Linked DNA regions of Homo sapiens: regions 2 and 3 are each linked to region 1. The links are contacts of gene promoters, found by promoter capture Hi-C in human tissues and cell types (Jung and others, 2019). All regions are on one chromosome and are shown on one strand. Each heading gives the region's core, a stretch centred on a gene start or on the middle of the fragment in contact. The rest is flanking DNA. Distances are from core to core; before and after follow the strand shown. Region 1 holds the start of GPRC5A (G protein-coupled receptor class C group 5 member A). Region 2 has its middle 100 kb from the start of GRIN2B. Region 3 overlaps ETV6 (ETS variant transcription factor 6).

Region 1 (3,425 bases), core at 355-2,854:
CTGATCACAGTTCCATGTTCCTGCGGAGCTGGGAGGAGAAATCAGTCTTCCTGACTCAAGGTTGAGAGCTCTTCCCGGGAAACCAAAGGGTTCTGCTCATTCCATTCTGCCCTTGAGGCACTCACCTCTCCACGCCCTTGGAGAGGTCCCTTGTTTCCCACGTAGCGCCTCTCCCGGCCCTTCCTTCCCCTCATTCCTTCCCTCACCTAGCAGACACCGGCATGCAAACCTGGAGGGTGTGTGCCCCCTCCGCCCTCACCCCTCCCGTGGTCCCTAGCCCATTGTGTCTGAAGTAGCTGAAGTGTTCCCCTTCAGGAATGAACCCACAGCAGTGGCTGATTCGGCCGAACCCTTCAACAGGTGTGGTGTTTACACAAGCCTCTGAGGAGACAATCAGGAATGGAAAGAAGTCAGGAATGGAAAGTCCTTCAAATTCCTTGATTCTGAGCAGGTTTCAGCTGTTAGCTAGCCTTTCCCATGGATGTTTAAAGCTATCTGTGGCCGGGCGCGGGGGCTCACACCTGTAATCCCAGCACTTTGGGAGGCTGAGGCGGGCAGATCACCTTAGGTCGGGAGTTTGAGACCAACCTGACCAACATGGGGAAACCCCGTCTCTACTAAAAATACAAAATTAACCAGGAGTGGTGGTGCATGCCTGTAATCCCAGCTACTCGGGAGTCTGAGGCAGGAGAATCGCTTGAACCCGGGAGGTGGAGGTCGCGGTGAGCTGAGATCGCAACATTGTACTCCAGCCTGGGCAACAAGAGTGAAACTCCATCTCAAAAAATAAAATAAAGCTATTTGCCAGCCTTCCCCATGGATGTTTAAGGGACCAGATGGAACAGCATCTATGCTATTCCCAAATCCTATCCATAAAGTCGGTAGTGGAAGGTGCACTCTCAGCGCACATTCAACTTTCATCTGTCCCAGGTTTCTGAGCAACTCAAGGCACACCAGAGTGGAACTGACCGCCCACACATCAAGAGAAAAGGGATGGGCTTCTAGATCTAATTCCCAAAACTCAGAAGGGCTTTTTGCAGCATCTGGGTAAAATAGTAGCTGTCACCGTGTCCTCCCTCCTGCCCCTGCCCCTTGTTTCCCACTCCCCCTCCACTCCCAGTACCTTCGGGTCCTCTGAGATCTTTCTCCCTCTATTCTTTTCCTGCAGAGTGATCCCAGAGCTGCTCACCTCCTGCCTGGCCGGATTCCATCTACTCAAAGTTTGTAGAATGTGTCCGAGCAGAAACTATTACCCTGATTATCTCTTTGCTCTCTGCCTCTATCTTAGCCTAGGAAACCCGCAAAGGGGAAAAAAAAAAAAAAAAATCTGAGTTGTTAAACTAGAGGAACTGTTTCCTAGGGAATTTTTTTCTCATAGCCAACTGTATTCCATTACCAGGATTTCTCTCCTCTTCTATCCCACCCCTCCCAACGCCCCGCTCTCCCCAGACGATTTAAATCCGGAGGCCCCAGCGCTCTGGGCTCCTGGCGCCTCACTTACCCTAGTGCCAAGGCGTTGGCCGTGAACTTGGTGCTGCTTCCCGCGCGCAAGAGGGCAGCAGGCGAGCTCCTCAGTGCTGGGGGAGACCTTGGACAGCTATCCCGCCCTCGCACTCTGAGCAGTTGTTATAAAGGCGGCCCTCGCCGGAGGGAGGGAACGAGCGAGGGGTGAGCAGAGGGACAAGGAGGGGGAGGGTCGAGGGAGAGGACACGCCTATTCCAGTTCCACGGCACTTCATGCTGTTATGAAAATAAAGTCCCCGTGCCAGGGAATGACCCAAAAACCGTCTGACGTCAGAGGCACAGTCACCCCTGGAAGCTGGGCGGGGGTGACCACCCGGCCCTGCCCAGCGCATCGGACTCCTCCGAGACGTGCTCACGCGCTGGTCCCAGGGCGCCGGCTACGAGAGGGGAGCCGGAGCAGACCAGCTCCTTACGGGCCCCGCCAGCTGTCACCTCCCGGGGGAGCCACACCCGCCTCCCCGCAGGCACTCGGGTCCACCCGGGGCAAGGGCCCAGCCCGCGAGATTGCAGCAGCTCCGCCGTCAAGTCCAGCGGGACAAGCCAGCCTTCCTCCACTTTCTTTGACCTTAGCTTAGCCTTTCTCTCCATCACTCTCCCCCAGCCACTGCCGTATGGGAAGCCAGGCTTCAGAAAAAGGAGGCAGCCACCTTCTCAGGGCTCCCCAGCCAAAGCCACGTGAAAGCCAAGGAAAACTTCCCCCACCAGGTCCGTAGTTAGCTCAGCAGCTCCACCTGTCAGAGTCTAGACAGGCACCATTAGTGCTGCCCTGGGGCTGAGAGATCAGTATCTCTCCTTTCCTAACTGCCTCTCCTAAAGCCTCGACAATGCAGGCTGATTGAACGGGGGCGCCAGATGAAATTATGAAATGAAGGAATTTGCTTTGGTGCCTGGTTTCCCCTCCCTCCACTGCCCACTCCTCTTCCAGGATCAAGCCAATCGGACCGAAACTCGTCTTTGTTTACGTGTGGAACGATCCTGGAGTGGCTGCCCGCCTGTGTCGGGGCTCAAGCCAGGTTCTACCCCATGCCACGGGGAGGCAGGAGGGACTCTGTTTTTAAAGTGGTTATCAGCGCGCTTGGTAAACTAATCTGGATTATTCTGCATATGAAGAAATGGGGGAAGGCCCAGGGCTCCCCAGCTTTCTCTTCACTTCTCCCCACACCCCAAGTCTCCAGAGCCTAAAGTGCTTTTAAAATGTGACCTACTGGAGACTGTGACCCCACCATTGTTAGGTTTTTATTTCACTCCCAAAAAACCACAGGCAGTGCCTTGAGTGTTGGAACACTTTGAGGTATGCAGCCCAGGGGTCTGTGAGTCCACCCATTTCACACCTAAGACTCCCAGGGGTGTGTGTGGCAGAGTGGGGGTGGGTACTGAGAGACTGGTGGGACTGCAAATGACAGTGCTTTATAGTGTGTGCCATCCGCTAAGTCAGGGCTTCTCTCCGGACCCCAGCGTTCTCGTCTGTTCAAGAAGTTGAACTAGACTACCATTGTACAATAGAACTATAATTCAAGCCACAAACATAAGCCACATTTGTTTTTTATTTTTTGTGTGTTTTTTCTTTTTTAGACAAGGTCTCGCCGTCACCCAGGCTGGAGTACAATGGCACAATCGGCTCACTGCAGCCTCAATCACCCAGGCTCAAGCTATCCTTCCACCTCAGCCTCCCAAGCACCCAGGACCACATGTGTGCATTACCACACCTGGCTAATTTTTTTGTTTGTTTCTTGTTTGAGACACTCTCACTTTGTCACCCAGGCTGGGGTGCAGTGATACCATCATGGCTCACTGTAAGCCTTTACCTCCCAGGCTCAAGCAGTCTTCCCGCCTCAGCCTCCCAAGTAATTCTTTTTATTATTTATAGAGACAAGGTCTCGCTGTGTTGCACATGCTGGTCT
Region 2 (3,425 bases), core at 240-2,739, 1.2 Mb before region 1:
GTTACTGTAGCCTTGCAGTATAGTTTGAAGTCAGGTAGCGTGATGCCTCCAGCTTTGTTCTTTTTGCTTAGGATTGTCTTGGCAATGCGGGCTTTTTTTGGTTCCATATGAACTTTAAAGTAGTTTTTTCCAATTCTGTGAAGAAAGTCATTGGTAGCTTGATGGGGATGGCATTGAATCTATAAATTATCTTGGGCAGTATGGCCATTTTCACGATATTGATTCTTCCTATCCATGAGCATGGAATATTCTTCCATTTGTTTGTGTCCTCTTTTATTTCATTGAGCAGTGGTTTGTAGTTCTCCTTGAAGAGGTCCTTCACATCCCTTGTAAGTTGGATTCCTAGGTATTTTATTCTCTTTGTAGTAATTGTGAATGGGAGTTCACTCATGATTTGGCTCTCTGTTTGTCTGTTACTGGTGTGTAAGAATGCTTGTGATTTTTGTACCCTGATTTTGTATCCTGAGCCTTTGCTGAAGTTGCTTATTAGCTTAAGGAGACTTTGGGCTGAGCTGATGGGGTTTTCTAAATATACAATCATGTCATCTGCAAATAGGAACAATTTGACTTCCTCTTTTCCTAATTGAATACCCTGTATTTCTTTGTCCTGCCCATTGCCCTGGCCAGAATTTCCAACACTATGTTGAATAGGAGTGGTGAGAGGGGGCATCCCTGTCTTGTGCCAGTTTTCAAAGGGAATGCTTCCAGTTTTTGCCCATTCAGTATGATATTGGGTGTGGGTTTGTCACAAATAGCTCTTAGTATTTTGAGATACGTCCCGTCAATACCTAATTTATTGAGAGTTTTTAGCATGAAGGACTGTTGAATTTTGTCAAAGGCCTTTTCTGCATCTTTTGAGATAATCATGTGATTTTTGTCTTTGGTTCTGTTTGTATGATGGATTACATTTATTGATTTGCGTATGTTGAACCAACCTTGCATCCCAGGGATGAAGTCCACTTGATCATGGTGGATAAGCTTTTTGATGTGCTGCTGGATTCGGTTTGCCAGTATTTTATTGAGGATTTTTGCATCAATGTTCTTCAGGGATATTGGTCTAAAATTCTTTTTTTGTTTTGTCTCCACCAGGCCTTGGTATCAGGATGATGCTGGCCTCATAAAATGAGTTAGGGAGGATTCCCTCTTTTTCTATTGATTGGAATATTTTCAGAAGGAATGGTACCAGCTCCTCCTTGTACCTCTGGTAGAATTCAACTGTGAATCCATCTGGTCCTGGACTTTTTTTGGTTGATAGGCTATTAATTACTGCCTCAATTTCAGAGCCTGTTATTGATCTATTCAGGGATTCAACTTCTTCCTGGTTTAGTCTTGGGAGGGTGTAGGTGCCCAGGAATTTATCCATTTCTTCTAGATTTTCTAGTTTATTTGGGTAGAGATGTTTATAGTATTCTCTGATAGTAGTTTGTATTTCTGTGAGATCTGTGGTGATATCCCCTTTATCATTTTTTATTGCATCTATTTGATTCTCCTCTCTTTTCTTCTTTATTAGTCTTGCTAGCGATCTGTCAGTTTTGTTTATCTTTTCAAAAAACCAGCTCCTGGATTCATTGATTTTTTGAAGGGTTTTTTGTGTCTCTATCTCCTTCAGTTCTGCTCTGATCTTAGTTATTTCTTGCCTTCTGCTGCTTTTGAATGTGTTTGCTCTTGCTTCTCTAGTTCTTTTAATTGTGATGTTAGGGTGTCAATTTTAGATCTTTCCTGCTTTCTCTTGTGGGCATTTAGTTTCTATAAATTTCCCTCTACACACTGCTTTGAATGTGTCCCAGAGATTCTGGTATGTTGTGTCTTTGTTCTTATTGGTTTCAAAGAGCACTTTCTTTCTGCCTTCATTTCGTTATGTACCCAGTAGTCATTCAGGAACAGGTTGTTCAGTTTCCACGTAGTTGAGTGGTTTTGAGTGAGTTTCTTAATCCTGAGTTCTAGTTTGATTGCACTGTGGCCTGAGAGACAGTTTGTTATAATTTCTGTTCTTTTACATTTGCTGAGGAGTGCTTTACTTCCAACTATGTGGTCAGTTTTGGAATTAGTGCGATGTAGTGCTGAGAAGAATGTATATTCTGTTGATTTGGGGTGGAGAGTTCTGTAGATGTCTATTTGGTCCACTTGGTGCAGAGCTGAGTTCAATTCCTGGATAACCCTGTTAACTTTCTTTCTCGTGGATCTGTCTAATGTTGACAGTGGGGTGTTAAAATCTCCCATTATTATTGTGTGGGAGTCTAAGTCTCTTTGTAGGTCTCTAAGGACTTGCTTTATGAATCTGGGTACTCCTGTATTGGGTGCATATATATTTAGGATAGTTAGCTGTTCTTGTTGAATTGATCCCTTTACCATTATGTAGCAGTCTTCCTTGTCTCTTTTGATCTTTGTTGGTTTAAAGTCTCTTTTATCAGAGACTAGGATTGCAATCCCTGCTTTTTTTTGTCTTCCATTTGCTTGGTAGATCTTCTTCCATCCCTTTATTCTGAGTTTATGTGTGTCTCTGCATGTGAGATGGGTCTCCTGAATACAGCACACTGATGGGTCTTGACTCTATCCAATTTGCCAGTCTTTGTCTTTTAATTGGGGCATTTAGCCCATTTACATTCAAGGTTAATATTGTTATGTGTGAATTTGATCCTGTCATTATGATGTTAGCTGGTTATTTTGCTCGTTAGTTGATGCAGTTTCTTCCTAGCATCGATGATCTTTACAATTTGGCATGTTTTTGCAGTGGCTGGTACTGGTTGTTCCTTTCCATGTTTAGTGCTTCCTTCAAGAGCTCTTGTAAGGCAGGCCTGGTGGTGATAAAATCTCTCAGCATTTGCTTGTCTGTAAAGGATTTTATTTCTCCTTCACTTATGAAGCTTAGTTTGGCTGGATATGAAATTCTGGATTGAAAATATTGGCCCCCACTCTCTTCTGGCTTGTAGAGTTTCTGCCGAGTGATCTGCTGTTAGTCTGATGGGCTTCCCTTTGTGGGTAACTTGACCTTTCTCTCTGCCTGCCCTTAACATTTTTTCCTTCATTTCAGCTTTGGTGAATCTGACAGTTATGTGTCTTGGAGTTGCTCTTCTCAAGGATTATCTTTGTGGTGTTCTTTGTATTTCCTGAATTTGAATGTTGGCCTGCCTTGCTAGGTTGGGGAAGTTCTCCTGGATAATATCCTGAGGAGTGTTTTCCAACCTGGTTCCATTCTCCCCATCACTTTCAGGTACACCAATCAGACGTAGATTTGGTCTTTTCACATAGTCCCATATTTCTTGGAGGATTTGTTCATTTCTTTTTACTCTTTTTTCTCTAAACTTTTCTTCTCACTTCCTTTCATTCATTTGATCTTCAGTCACTGATACTCTTTCTTCCAGTTGATCGAATCGGCCACTGAAGCTTGTGCACGCATCACGTAGTTCTCGTGCCATGGTTTTCAG
Region 3 (3,425 bases), core at 283-2,782, 1.2 Mb after region 1:
ATTAGTCTCATCCATAAATACCTTCACAGAAACATCCAGAAGAATATCTGATCATACATATGAGCACTGTGGCCCATCTAAGTTGACACATAAAATTAAGCATCACTTGTGCCCTAGGTGTTCTGCATTCAGAGATCCTATATCACAATTACTAGATTTCCAAAGAAAACATGAGATCTAGCCAGGTGCAGTGGTACAGGCCTATATTCTCAGCTATTGGGAGGTTAAGGTGGGAGGATCATTTGAGCTCAGGAGTTCCAGACCAGCCTGCACAACATAGCGAGACCTCATCTCGAAAAGAAAGAAAAGAAGAAGAGAGGAGAGGAGAGGAGAGGAGGAGAGAAGAAAAGATCAAACGCTTTCAAAAAAGAAAAAAAGGAACGGAATAAAATCTGTAAAATTTAAGACAGTGGCTAACTGGGATAAGAGGGCAGGGGTAGAATGAGGAAGAAGGTAGAGGTATATAGGTAGGGTATCAATATCAGTCATTTTGGTTCTTATGTTGGGTGGTGAGTTCATAGGTGTTCACTGTATCATCATGCTTTGTAACTCACATAGCTTCTTGGTTATATATCAAATATTACATATAGAATACAATGGGGGGTGGGGAACGAATCAAGCTTTCAGGCCACACGTGTGCATCACCTCAATGCAGCCTCCCCTGACCACTCCTGAACAGACATTTCTCTTTCTCTGATCAACTGTCTCTCCATTCATGAGCTGATATTGCTAGGTAACTTTTCATGTGCTTAGACCTTGCCTTTTCGAATGGATTTTAAGTCCCTCAAAATTCTGGGACAGTTTCTTACACATCTTTCTACTCTCCCACAGGGTCTGAGTGAGTGTCTGAGTAACTCAATAAATTCTCATTGATGGCTGAAAAGCAAGATGAGTCGGGGTAGGAATAACAAAAATAAACCAGCAGAAAAGCAGGGTTGGTTGAGTGGCACTGGGTGTCAGCTTTCTGGAAGTCACTAACAGCTCCAAAAGTTGACTTGAGAGGTCAGAAGCGAGGCAGGGTACATATACGATTCCTGAATGTGCCTAGAATGAAACAATGTCCATCCCCCATGATACTGGCCTACAAGTGGTACCTGTGATAACACAGCAAGGCTTGTAGAAGGGAATGTACACAAGACAGGGGGGAGTCTGGGCCGTCTGTGATGTCCAGACTGCAAGAAACCAGTGGAAAAGTCCCTCCCAGGGAGGTGGCACCTCAGCTCCAAGTTTCCTTAAGAAAACGCAGTTACAGCACCATTATACTTCTTGCTAAGTCCCCAAATTTCCAGTCTTTCAGCAGCTTCCCACCCAGTCTGTTCAATACCTTAGAAGACAACAGCACTCCCTTGCAGAGCACAAGTGAGGACTGCTTTATCTGTTCTCAAATTCCAAGTCTACATTCTTGTTCTTTTTTTTTTTTTTTTCACTGAGACTCCCCAACCCTAAACTTGAGATGCTCCCATCTGTCCCATGAACCCCAGCTCTGTCTGGCTTATTCCAATTTAGGTTAAAGAGATCAAGGCTGGATGTGGTAGTGAGAACTCTCTCCTGTTGGAAACAAAGGTTACCCTGAAGGAAATGTACAGCTTTCGACGTATGCTCACCACAGAGGGAAGCATAACAGAACATTCAAAATTATAACAGAATAACTTAAAATCAGGCTGAGAAAATCACAAATACAACTGCTAAGGGAAGAAAAGATAGACTTCAAACGGCTTATAAATTGATCCTGCTAAAAGGTCACTTTACTGCCATAAGATAGGAGGAGACAAAGTTGAGATTAAAATTATCATAACCATGTTCTAGTTCAGTTTCTCAGTTAACAGGTAAATATGGCCCTGTGAGGTGACATGCCAGGTCACTGGACGGAGAAGAACCAGAGCCAGGGATCACCACTCCATGGCCAATGCCTGTGTGCCATGACGTTCTCCAGGACCGATCCCCTTGGCCACTTGCCACATACGACTCGGGGCCTGTGTACCTGGCACTGAATCAAAGAAAGGTCCCGATTAGAATCCATAAATCTACATGCAGGAGGTTAGAGGGGAGAAATTGAGAAGAAAATCATTCTTTCCATACACTAAAAGGAAAATCATCAGTGGCTAAAGCAATCTGAGAACACCCATGCTTCCGACATTTCTCACATTTAGAAAAAAACGCCCCATGATGACAGAATTCTCAACACCAGCCTGCTATTTGGAACTAAAGGAACAAGTGGGAGCATGAAAGGGATCGATGGAAACGCAGTGCACAACTAGGATTTTCAAACAATCTACATCCAGCTCAGGTAGAGAAGCGCTGCGATTCCCACAGGTGTGCTCCCATTCTAAGCCAGGAGACCACCTCTAGCAGGTGAGCCTGCCTGCCACAGCAAGCCTGCTCATGGGAAATGAGCCCGCTGCTCAGGATTCTTTATTATTTTTAAGACTTCCCATTTGAGAAGCAGGGAATGTGATTTTTTTTCCTCTCCAACACGTTTTTTTCACGTCTAGCCTCCTTTACACAGCTGCTCTTCTTCAAGACTCTGCAATTGAGCGCTCTTGTTTACTTTCTTCTGAGTTCCCTGAGGTTTGATTGTTGAGGCCTGTGCAAGTCAGTGATTAGCATTCTGACTTCAATTCCTTCTTCAGAGTCAGCCAAAGGAGTCCAAGAAGTTGGCCACAACCACCCCCTGGGAACAATAGACCCTTTCTACAAAATACAGGTTTGTCTTCCTTTTCAAATACACAGGAGTTGGTCCCCTGGCAGAGAGGTCTACCTGACAGTACAAACTGTTCGCTGTGAAGTAGAGGGCTTTCCAAACAAGCAGCATCAACCTGCAGGTCATATGTGCACCAGAGTAAAGATTTCACCTCGATTCCATTTACAGAACTCAAAAGGTAAATTGTACGCCCCATCTGAAAGAAAACAGATATGGCTAGGAATGCAATCGTCCTAGAAATACCTGGCTTGTAACAGTCGGGCCCTGCAAGGGCAGCTGGGGTGTATGATGCAAGCCAGTGCTCTCCCACCCTCTCCACTTGCCTCTTATCTGTCCTGCTCACAAAACAGTGCAGGTGGCCCTACTATCTCCTAGCACCTAAAACTGAAGTCATTAGAAAACTCAGTAACCTGCCAGGTAAGGAGGGCTGCCCCTCATGGAAGCTCGGAGCACACTGATTCACTATTTAACCTATGAAAAACAGACAGCAGCCTCTAAAAGCTGAAATTCACATCATGCTCTCTACTCTTTTTTATTTTTATGCAGGACTGTTTTACAAGAAACAATCTTGCAATGTGATAGTGCTGGGCTCTTCCAGCGAAGAGAAATGGAGTCTAGTCCCTGCTCTGCCCTTTACTAAACTGGGCAACTTAACCTCTGTGCATCTATTTCTCCATGTGTACAAGGACAGTAAGACTGCCATCCTGCTTTTCTCACACGGTTA

The links. Contacts are between HindIII fragments. The study calls those that stand out against the background at their distance.
Region 2: a fragment that was not itself captured here is called in contact with the fragment with the promoter of GPRC5A in region 1 in 1 of the 25 tissues and cell types used here (dorsolateral prefrontal cortex).
Region 3: a contact is called between a fragment that was not itself captured here and the fragment with the promoter of GPRC5A in region 1, in 1 of the 25 tissues and cell types used here (IMR-90 fibroblasts).

What each region holds. Positions count from the first base shown.
Region 1 is chr12:12,889,741-12,893,165 of GRCh38, reverse strand. It overlaps GPRC5A (G protein-coupled receptor class C group 5 member A), which reads right to left and starts at 1,604. Exons shown (of 4, transcript NM_003979.4): 1 at 1,502-1,604. The HindIII fragment of the contact is 16,829 bases long and covers 1-3,425 here.
Region 2 is chr12:14,080,751-14,084,175 of GRCh38, reverse strand. No RefSeq gene overlaps it. Among named protein-coding and RNA genes, the nearest start is that of GRIN2B, 100 kb to the right of the region's middle. The HindIII fragment of the contact is 4,357 bases long and covers 1-3,425 here.
Region 3 is chr12:11,706,257-11,709,681 of GRCh38, reverse strand. The region is part of intron 1 of ETV6 (ETS variant transcription factor 6); the gene reads right to left. Among named protein-coding and RNA genes, the nearest start is that of ETV6, 58 kb to the right of the region's middle. The HindIII fragment of the contact is 6,682 bases long and covers 1-3,425 here.